Linked DNA regions of Homo sapiens: region 1 is linked to region 2. Evidence: promoter capture Hi-C in 16 types of primary human blood cells and fetal thymus (Javierre and others, 2016). All regions are on one chromosome and are shown on one strand. The core of a region is centred on a gene start or on the middle of the fragment in contact, and the rest is flanking DNA. Distances in the headings are between cores, read along the strand shown.

The links. Contacts are between HindIII fragments. The CHiCAGO score rates a contact against its expected background, and 5 or more counts as called.
Region 1: a contact is called between a fragment that was not itself captured here and the fragment with the promoter of HEMK2 in region 2, in 2 of 17 cell types (non-activated CD4 T cells and activated CD4 T cells). The highest score is 6.6, in non-activated CD4 T cells.

What each region holds. Positions count from the first base shown.
Region 1 is chr21:29,293,549-29,298,734 of GRCh38, reverse strand. It overlaps LOC105369299 (a long non-coding RNA gene), which reads left to right. Exons shown (of 2, transcript XR_937652.3): 1 at 1-2,129; 2 at 2,393-2,557. Among named protein-coding and RNA genes, the nearest start is that of BACH1, 2.8 kb to the left of the region's middle. RefSeq lists a silencer at 1-288. The HindIII fragment of the contact is 1,657 bases long and covers 2,007-3,663 here.
Region 2 is chr21:28,883,687-28,889,195 of GRCh38, reverse strand. HEMK2 (HemK methyltransferase 2, ETF1 glutamine and histone H4 lysine) reads left to right here and starts at 3,829. Exons shown (of 6, transcript NM_013240.6): 1 at 3,829-3,984. The coding sequence starts at 3,851. It also overlaps the pseudogene HSPD1P7. RefSeq lists enhancers at 3,412-3,970, 3,916-3,975, 3,971-4,530. The HindIII fragment of the contact is 10,284 bases long and covers 3,454-5,509 here.

The DNA.
Region 1 (5,186 bases), core at 1,586-4,085, 410 kb before region 2:
CAGCGAACGAGCGCGCGCAATAGCGCGGGGCAGGGGTCGCCGCGGCCGGAAGCCCACGCGGGGGGTTGCAGGGACGGGTCGTAAGGGGCGGGGCGGGCCTCGAGGAGGCGGCGGTGGGGTCCCCGGACCTCCGCGCGTGGCACAGCCCGCATCCTGAACTGACTCCCACTCGAGGACCACCTCTCCTCTCCCTTCTGAGGGCGGAACGGAAAGGCCAAGCGCCTCCTCGCCTCGGGAGCTGCAGGACGCCCTAATTCAGCCGAGTCGCCGCGTGCCCGGGTGCCCGCGAACAGCAGGAGAGAGGACGGGCGCTGGCCCCACAGGGGTCGCTTTACCCCTTGAAGAGCTCCTCGCTGCCTGCCCTGGGGGTGGTGGGCGTCCAGGTTCACAGGGTACTTGAGCTTGCTGGGGTGGGGGTGTGTATGAAGTGCGTCCAGGGTTTTGTGGAGCGCGTCTAGCAGTTGCTCTACTTCTTACTGACAGTGAAACAAGGGCGCCCACGACAGGTGTTCCCTTTTCGCTGTCGCTGCCAGGAAGCTTCCAGCCAGGTTCAGCGCCCAGTGGTGTCAGCCGGCCCATCTCGAGCCTTGGTTCCGCTGTCATCTTCTGGTGCTTATTCTGGTGTTTATCCAACTGTCCGTTTTGAAATTATGTTCCCAAGCCATTTAACACCTCTGGAGAACCAAAGCACTGGCTGTCAGCGGAGCGGGATGCACGCGCAGCGGAGGGGACTGGGCACGCCAACCCCACGAGGGTTCCTGCGGAGATGACACGGACCTTGAGGTCTGAAGCCAAAGGACGATTTGTGTGAAGGGATTTTATTGTTAGCTTTGGAGCCAGCAACAAGAACACAGCCCTGGAGTTCCCGGGGCAAAAAGGATACCAAGATAATAATTCAGGTATTACGACTAACATGACTGCATTTGCACCCACAGGCTGTGGGACTTGGGGACGTTTGAGCTACATCCAAAATACATGAGAAAATCACACAAGTGAAATTGGATGAGAGTGCGAGGGGTGAAGTGATACATTATGACCTAGAATTAGGGGAGGCTTCCTGGAGCAGGTGACATTTGCATTGGGTCTTGATTGGGAAGAGTGGAACCCAGCAGTCTAGATAGGGTCCAGAGGTAGGAGGTACCTCGCATCCCAGGCTGCCTCAGTTCATGGTGAGAGTGCAGATATTTAGTGAAACAGGAGGAAAGGACACTTGGAAATACACCATGAAAGAAGGATTGAAGTTCTTGCAGACACATGGGAGTGTCCGAGGCTTTATTCTCCTTCCACCTTGAGCCAGTGGAATTGCAGTGTCTTTTTTCTACACCTATGCAGTTTTTTCTACACCTGTGCAGTTTTTTCTAGGGGAAGATCAGACCCTCCTCTTTGGGAGGAACTCTTGCTTCTTTAGATAATAGCAGTGACATTTTCTAGCCTGAAAATTATGATGTATGCCCTGATAGGTTTAATTATTTGAGAAGTTCTCACAAAGGTATACAGATGTGCTAAGAGTATCAAGTCAAGTGAGTGACTCTCAAGCTTCATTATGGGGAAGAATATTTGGTTTGCTTGTTAAAATGCAGATTCCGGCCGGGAGCAGTGGCTCATGCCTGTAATCCCAGCACTTTCAAAGGCCAAGGCGGGCGGATCACGAGGTCAGGAGATCGACATGGTGAAACCCCGTTTCTACTAAACCCCAACATGGTGAAACCCCGTTTCTACTAAAATACAAAAAATTAGCCAGGCATGATGGTGTGCGCCTGTAGTCCCAGCCGCTCAGGAGGCTGACACAGGGGAATCGCTTGAACCTGGGCGGTGGAGGTTGCAGTGAGCTGAGATCGCGCCACTGCACTCCAGCCTGGCGACAGAGCAAAACTCTATCTCAAAAAAAAAAAAAAAAAAAAAAATGCAGATTCCTGGGTCCCACCCCCAAAAGATGCTAATTTTGTAGATCTGAGTAGGACCTAAGGGTCTGCATTTTTAATACTGAAGCATGTGGTCTTCAAGCTTATGGCATGTAGTAGGGACAGGACGAAAAATGAAACTGGAGAATGAAATGAAACCGAGTCAGTATGAGAAGGGCCTCATGCACAGCACCTGGAGTTTGGACTTCATCCCGTGGTCTGCAATAAGTGAGTAGAGGTTTCTAAGTCATGTGGTTATTTTTAAAAGCTAATTCTAGTATTGAGAAGGAATGGGAGTGGAAACAGATAGTAGGTTGAATGAAGGAATGAATGCAGTAAAATGCTCAGTGAAAGATGTGGCACTTTTTGTTTTCAGTATTCTCTTGCTTTGAACCAAAACCACTTAGAATGTATTTCTTTTAAAACCTGTATGTCAGTGTAAATATTCACAAACAACTGTATGTTCTGACCTATGTCTTCTGGACTTCCAGAGTTAGCATTAACATTATTAGCTGCCAGGCCAACAAAACCTTGAGTAATCCTGCAATACTCGGAATCAAGAAAAGTGGCTACATCATGGTCAACTTTGAAGAACATCAGCCTCAAGATCTTTTATACTAACTCATATGTTTATTAAAATCTATTACTAAAACAGATTTTTAAAAATTATCTTGAGGTTATAATGAGACATAGTGCTTCTACCTAATTCCTATTGGGAAAAAAAAATGTTGAGATTTGGGGACCAAGAAAAAAAATTCTGATCGCTTTTTTTTTTTTTTTTTTTGAGATGGTGTCTCTCTCTGTCACGCAGGCTTGGAGTGCAGTGGCATGATTTTGTCTCACTGCAACCTCTGCCTCCCGGGTTCAAGTGATTCTCCTGCCCCAGCCTCCTGAGTAGCTGGAATTTCAGGCACCCACCACCAAGCCCAGCTAATTTTTGTATTTTTAGTAGAGACAAGGTTTCACCATGTTGGCCAGGCTGATCTCAAACTCCTGACCTCAAATGATCCACCTGCCTTGGCCTCCCAGAGTGCTGGGACTACAGGCATGAGCCACCGCTCCCAGCTGATTGCTTTCAATTAGTATTGATAATAGTTTGAAACTGGGACAAGTAGCCTAGTCTTGGCAGTCTTTCTGCTCCTTAGCTCAGCTAGGTCCAAGTTCTTGTCTCACAACCAGGAAAAACTAGGCACACAGACACCGGAAAGTGAGTGGAGTGGAATTGATTAAGCAAAAGGAAAGCTCTCAGCAAAGAGCGAATGCTGGGAGCAGTTCCCCTACCCGAAAGTGGGAAAATCCCCTCTCATGTGGCTGAGCCTGGGGCTTTTATGCACTCAGAATGGGGAGTGCATGCTGATTGGTTTGTGAGTTTGCAAAAAAAGGTTAAAGCAAAGACACCACTCAAAGGCAGGCACGACAGTGTAGAAAACCAATTAGAAAGGGTAAGTATACGTAAAATAGGTGAAGGGTGGAGATCAGAGGAAAGCGTGCCAAACAGGAAGACAAGTTCTCAATCTAGTCTGAAAATTTAACTTGTAGTTTGGCTTTCAGGCTTTAAACTGTCTTCAGCTTGGAGGTGGGGTTTCACCGGGGACCTGCCTCTATCTGCCTAGGCGTTTGACTGTCTTCTGTTGCTGTCACTAGTAGCACAATATAAAGATTTTGTGCTACTGTTTCACAGTGATTTGCAATTAGTGCTTTTTTTTGTCATGTAGTTTTGTTTTTAGTGCATTATTCTTTAGGAGAATTTATCCGTGAAGCTTGGGTATCACAGCTTACTGCTATGTCCTTGATTTATACTTCTCATTGACTGTGAGAAGTGATGGCTAGTTTTCCTGCTGTGAGCAGGTTTGGTGATATACAATACCATTCGCAAGATGTTATATATGTGCATTGTCACATTTCTTTCAAAAATGATATTTCCAATTTTTCCAAACATTCATATCTTCTTTCTGGCCATCATACTGATTTTATTACCAAAATAAAATCTTATCATTAACTCTGAAAACAATTTAAATAACTATAAGCCATAGTTAGGGAATGATTTTTAATAAAACCTAGATACAAACACCATCATTTTCTCCTCTAATAGCAGGTTGTCTTGCCTGACTCTCAAAAATGAGGGAGCTAAATCATACAGATAGGTGACATGTTCATGGCTATAAGGAACACCATAGCATAATATTTGGACAGTAAGACATAATACATATCCTGAAAAAACTTTGATGTGTAGTCAGTGTAACCCTTGTCCCCTGTCCTCCTCCCTAACCTCAGGAAAGATCCACACTTCCACATTTATTCCCTACCCACCTTTGGTTTTGAATCCTCATTTCCACAGATGCAGCATGACATCTGTAACCCCTACAAATCTGCATACCCCTCCAGCCTTCCCAGAACTTCATTCCCTCCATCTTCATTGCCTTAGCTCCTTTTGTCTTTAAGTATTCACTCACTAAGTCAAGAAAATATTGGAGGGGGGGTGGGGCAAAACAACTAGGCTTTAAAGGTGGGGGATTACCCAGATCAACACAAGTCTCCCACTTGAACAACTGCTCTTTGACACCTGTACCCTGAGATGTGACTATGGATTAAAGTCATAGCACCCCTGCCTCCAGGTTGGAAAGTTTTATGGAAAATGAACATATTTTATTAGAAGACAATGAGAACTTCCTGGAGCAGATGAGTAAACACACCCTCATGTTTACCTGATAACTGAAATCAAAGATGAGGTGTAGCCTCTGGTTTGAAATGTTACAAAGTGTAAAATTAAGATAAAGGCAGAAAAATGAAAAGGAAATAGCCAGTTTTGAAGCAGAAGAACTCAGTGGGACAGGGGCCAAATCAGTGAAAGAGGTGCTGCTCAGATACCAGATTTAATGACAACCAAAGTGGCCCAAATATCCAAAAAAAATTGCGCTTCTGAAAACCAGTAGGAGGTTGCAGTGGACTAAAGATGGCCACAAAATTTTTATCGTTTTCCCCGTCAAGAATGGGAGTTTATTTTTCATCATCTTGAATCTGGCCCTGTGACTGCATCACCAAGAAGACACTGCAGAAGTGATGCTCTGCCAGTTCTGGTTCTAGTCTTTTAGAAGACTGTTAGCCTCTACTTCCTCTTTCTTCAAATGAGCTCTCTTGGGACACCCTCTCTCAGAACCAAACCACCATGCATGGGGCATGTGTGGCCTCTTCACTCAGGAGCCCCAGCAGAGCAACCAGCCAGTACTGAGCATCAAGTGCCAGTCATGTGAATGAGCCATCTAGGATGTTCTTTGGTCAAGTCTA
Region 2 (5,509 bases), core at 2,580-5,079:
TGCCAAAGATGTACAATTTTTGGTTCAGATGCCTGAGTCTTAATGCTTCAAGGTGTAGACCTTTTACTCACTGCTGTAGCCATTACAATGGGGCCAAAGGGAAAAACAGTGATTACTGAGCAGAACTGGGGAAGTCCCAAAGTAACAAAAGATGGTGTGACTGTTGCAAGGTCCATTGACTTAAAGGATAAATATAAAAATATTGCGGCTAAACTTGTTCAAGATGTTGCCAATAACACAAATGAAGAGGCTGGGGATGGCACTACCACTGCTACTGTTGCCAAGGAAGTCTTCAAGAAGTTTAGCAAAGGTGCTAATCCAGTGGAAATCAAGAGAAGTGTGATGTTAGCTGTTGATGCTGTAATTGCTGAACTTAAAAAGCAGTCTAAACCTGTGACCACCCCTGAAGAAATTGCTCAGGTTGCTACAATTTCTGCAAATGGAGACAAAGAAATTGGCAACCTAATTTCCGATGCAATGAAAAAGGTCAGAAGAAAGGGTTTCACCACAGTAAAGATGGAAAAACGCTACCGATGAATTAGAAATTATTGAAGGCATGAGGCCAGGTGTGGTGGCTCACGCCTATAATCCCAGCACTTTGGGAGGCGGAGGTGGGCGGATCACGAGGTCAGGAGATTGAGACCATCCTGGCTAACACGGTGAAACCCCGTCTCTACTAAAAATACAAAAAATTAGCCGGGTGTGGTGGCATGCACCTGTAGTCCCAGCTACTCAGGAGGCTGAGGCAGGAGAATTGCTTGAACCCAGGAGGTGGAGGTTGCAGTGAGCCGAGATTGTGCCACTGCACTCCAGCCTGGGTGACAGAGTGAGACTCCATCTAAAAAAAAAGAAAAAAAAAAAAGAAATTATTGAAGGCATGAAAGTTTGAGGATATATTTCTCCATACTTTATTAATACATCAAAAGGTCGGAAATGTGAATTCCAAGAAAATTTCTAGTGTCCAGTCCATTGTACCTGATCTTGAAATTGCCAATGCTCACCGTAAGCTTTTGGTCATAATTGCTGAAAATGTTGATGGAGAAACTCTAAGTACACTCATTTTGAATAGGCGAAAACTTGGTCTTCAGGTTGTAGCAGTCAAAGCTCCAGGGTTTGGTGACAATAGAAAGAACCACCTTAAAGGTATGACAATTGCTACTGGTGGTGCAGTGTTTGGAGAAGAGGAGTTGACCTCAAATCTTGAAGATGTTCAGCCTCATGACTTAGGAGAAGTTGGAGAGGTCACTGTGATCAAAGATGATGCTATGCTCTTAAAAGGAAAAGGTGACAAGGCTCAAATTTAAAAACGTATTCAAGAAATCATTGAGCAGTTGGATGTCACAACTAGTGAATATGAAAAGGAAAAACTGAATGAACAGCTGGCAAAACTTTCAGATGGAGTAGCTGTGCTGAAGGTTAGTGGGACAAGTCACGTTGAAGTGAATGAAAAGAAAAACAGAGTTACAGATGCCCTTAATGCTACAAGAGCTGCTGTTGAAGAAGGCATTGTTCTGGGAGGGGGTTGTACCCTACTTCGATGAATTGGTGCCTTGGACTCATTGACTCCAGCTAATGAAGATCAAAAAATTGGTACAGAAACTATTAAGAAAACACTCAAAATTCCTGCAATGACTATTGCTAAAAATGCGGGTGTTGAAGGATCTTTGATAGTCCAGAAAATTATGCAGTTCCTGAGAAGCTGGTTGTGATGCCACGGTCAGATTTTGTGAATATGGTGGAAAAAAGGAATTATTGACAAAACAAAGGTTGTGAGAAGTGCTTTACTGGATGCTGCTGGGGTGGCCTGTTAACTACAGCAGAAGTTGTAGTCAAAGAAATTCCTAAAAAAAGAGAAGGACCCTGTATTGGGTGCAATGGGTGGAACGGGAGGTGTTATGGGAAATGGCAAGTTCTAATGATTAGAATAGCGTTTTACTTTAATTAATGAACTGTGGCAGGAAGCCCAAGGCAGTATTCCTCACCAATAACTTCAGAGAAGTCAGCTGGAGAAAACGACTGAAGAAAAGGCTAGCAGATGTTTAGGAAATCACTATAACAATCAGTTACTGGTTTCAAGTGACAAAATATATAATGTTTTACTGCTGTCACTGTCCATGCCTACAGATAATTTATTTTGTATTTTTGGATAAAAAGACATTTGTATATTCCTAATACTGGGTGCGAGAGCACCTATGGTTCCAGTTCCAGCTACTCAGGAGGCTGAGGGAGGAGGATCGCTTGAACCCAGGAGATCAAGTACAACTCTTTCTATATATATATATTTTTCATATTTTTACATAATAAAATTCTATATGGCAGTTAAGAGGAGTAACCTAACCATATATCAAAACATAAATCTCATATAATGTTGACTGAAAAAGAAATTTGAAAAATATGTCCAACCTAGTACCAGTTATGTAAATTTTAAAATACACCGTATGTTGCTTATAAAGATATGAATGTTTATAAACGTATAAATACAAGATCCATGTTTTTACATGGATTAGATGGACATACACTAAATCCATAAGAGCCTTGGAGAGAATGTTACACAATTAAACTGAAGGCAAATAGAGAAAGAACATCCATCTTATTTGTAATATTTTAGTTCTTGTATTTAAAAAATATTTTAAGGAAACATGAGAAAATACTGTCATTTCTGGGTTTAAAACTTGGGGTTTTGAAATTTGTAACCCAGCCGGGTGCGTTAAAGGCTCACACCTGTAATCTCAGCACTTTGAGAGCCCAAGGCGGGTGGATCACCTGAAGTCAGCAGTTTGAGACCAGCCTGGCCAACATGGGGAAAATCCGTCTCTACTAAAAATACAAAAATTAGGCAGCCGTGGCTGCAGGCGCCTGTAATCCCAGCTACTCCGGAGGCTGAGGCAGGAGAACCGCTTGAACCTGGGAGGCAGAGGTTGCAGTGAGCCTAGCTCGCGCCACTGCACTCCAGCCTGGGGGATACAGCGAGACTCTGTCTCCAAAAAAAAAAAATACATAAGTAGAAATAAAATAAAATAAAATTTGTACCTCAAATACTTTTCTGTATTTTTATTTCTCAAATTTAAAAAACGAGCTGTAAAAATGTTTCATTGCGAAACAAATTTCAGAAATTGACTCAAAAAGAATGCAAATACTTGAATAGTCTAATAACTTACAGATGTTCCAAAACATCAAAGATCCATTCACTCAAAAAGGCACCAAGCCCAGCCAGTTTTAAGGCTTTCTACCTAATGTTCCAGAAACAGTGTCCTAACTCACATAACGAGGGTAGCGTAATCTTGGTAAAAAAAAACGGAGCCAGATTATTAGCCTCCCCAATTCAGCAGTGTATTAAACCGCATCATCTTGCTTAAGGTTTATAAAAAGAGTGCATTCATGATTCATCAGGAAGGCAATTTATAAAGTACAGTAAAAAAACGAGGAAAGTCTTCATCTTTATAGCGTAAAGCTTAAAGTTCAGCTGACAAAAAAACAGTAAAATTTATTATGTATTTTTTCAAATCCTTGCAAACTAGGAATAAAACAGAATTTCCAAATATCATTAGAATGAAGAAAGAACATTCACCTTAGTCAAAAACAACTCAGAATGCCCACTATCAGGTTCTAGTTCACAGAATAAAATTTAAATGTTCCAAAGAAGAAAGCAAATGTCAATAGTCACGGATTATACAACTGTCTACTTAGCAATTTCAAGGAGAGCCACTGACAAATTTAGAATTAAGACCCAACAACAACACACTGGTCGCCCGGGACGCCAGCCCCACTCCTAGGCCTGCGCATGAGGGTGAGGGCATGCGCATGCGCATGCGCACGCCCTGCGCACGCGCATGGAACGCAGCGAAGGACTATGGCAGGGGAGAACTTCGCTACGCCGTTCCACGGGCACGTGGGCCGCGGCGCCTTCAGCGACGTGTACGAGCCCGCGGAGGACACGTTTCTGCTTTTGGACGCGCTGGAGGCAGCGGCTGCCGAACTGGCAGGGTGCGAGGAGGGGAGGGGCTCTGACGGGAAAGGGTTGCGGCTTTCTGAAGAAGTGCGGTGGAGGAGGGCCGGAACGGTGACTATCACCGCCCTGAGCCGGAGCAGGCGGGGTCCACTTGCAGATGATTGACAGCCAGGACGCCGTAATTGAGAATTTTCCTGTAGCTACAAGTAATGAGTGTGCCGGGGACGCATCTCCTTTGCCAGGGGGCTGCTCTGTCTCATGAGCTCCCTGACTGCTTACCATGCAAAGGCGTATCTTTTCCTGTCGCCTGTTAATCTGAAGAACACATGTCCCTGAGAGAAGCGATAGTATAACACGTTTGGAAACAAAATATTCCGGAAACATTGCTTATTAATATTTTTAAAGTATTACATATTAAAATTGCATGGTATTATTTGATTTACTCAGCACATAGAAAGCACCCTTAACAAACATGAAAGAAAGTTGTGTTACTGGAGTGGGGAAATATTTTTAAACCCACTGAATAGCATACTCTAGCACCAGCCAGTCCTCACATGTGGCTACAGAGCGCTTGAAATGTGGCTAGTGCTATTGAGGAACTGAATTTTTCATTTAATTGTTACCAAAAAAAAGTTACATGCAGCTAGCAGACAATAGTCTACCCTAGCACTTTATTTAAATGGATTTATTGAAGTGATCGCCATCAATTTTAAATTAATAGCAGAAGGAATGAATACTGACATTGTGATTTTTAAATGTAAGGAATTTGGGTTGTTAGATTTGTTTGAAGATAAGATGAACTGGGTTTTCTCAGGATGGAACAAACAGCTTTCAGGTTTCAAAGATCTATATTGTATTTATTTATCCCTCTTAAACTTGGTCATATTTCTCCAGTATAAAATGTCCCAGCTCTTATTAAACTAGTCTTTCATTGTAGATGATGGAACTTTTGGATCTACTGGAATATACAGTGGAACAGTACTGTTTTATAACTTGTCTTTTCTTCTCAAGATAGCCCAGAAAGATTTACAAGCACAAATTGCACTGCAAAGTATGCTGTAAAAGGAGCTGATTTTGTTATAAAGTCTTGGGTTATTTCTAGTTTGGAATTCTAATTATTTATGAGACCATGATAGTTATTTTCAAAGAGAAGCCACCTGGTGAGATTCTCAGACCTTACTACCACCTAATAAAGACTTGTCAGATGTGTAGACTGGTTCCAAAAGTTTAAAACCTCTGGAGCTTGTCACTGGGTAGTTGTTTTGGGAGTTCAGTGCTAAAAATTTCCCTAAATGCCATCAAGCTGATCTTTTTAATGGGGATGATTTATGCTTTTGATGCATGTATAACATTATAGAGGGCTGGCACTGTGGTTCGTGCCTATAGTCCTAACTACTTGGGAGGCTGAGGTGGGAGGATCACTTGAGCAAGCCCAGGAGTTAAAGGCAGCAGTGAGCTGTGATGGCACCACTGCACTCTAGCCTAGGTGACAGAGCAAGAGCCTGTCTCTAAAAAAGAAGCAACTTCCAAGATTATAGGCAAGAAAATAAATTTAATGGA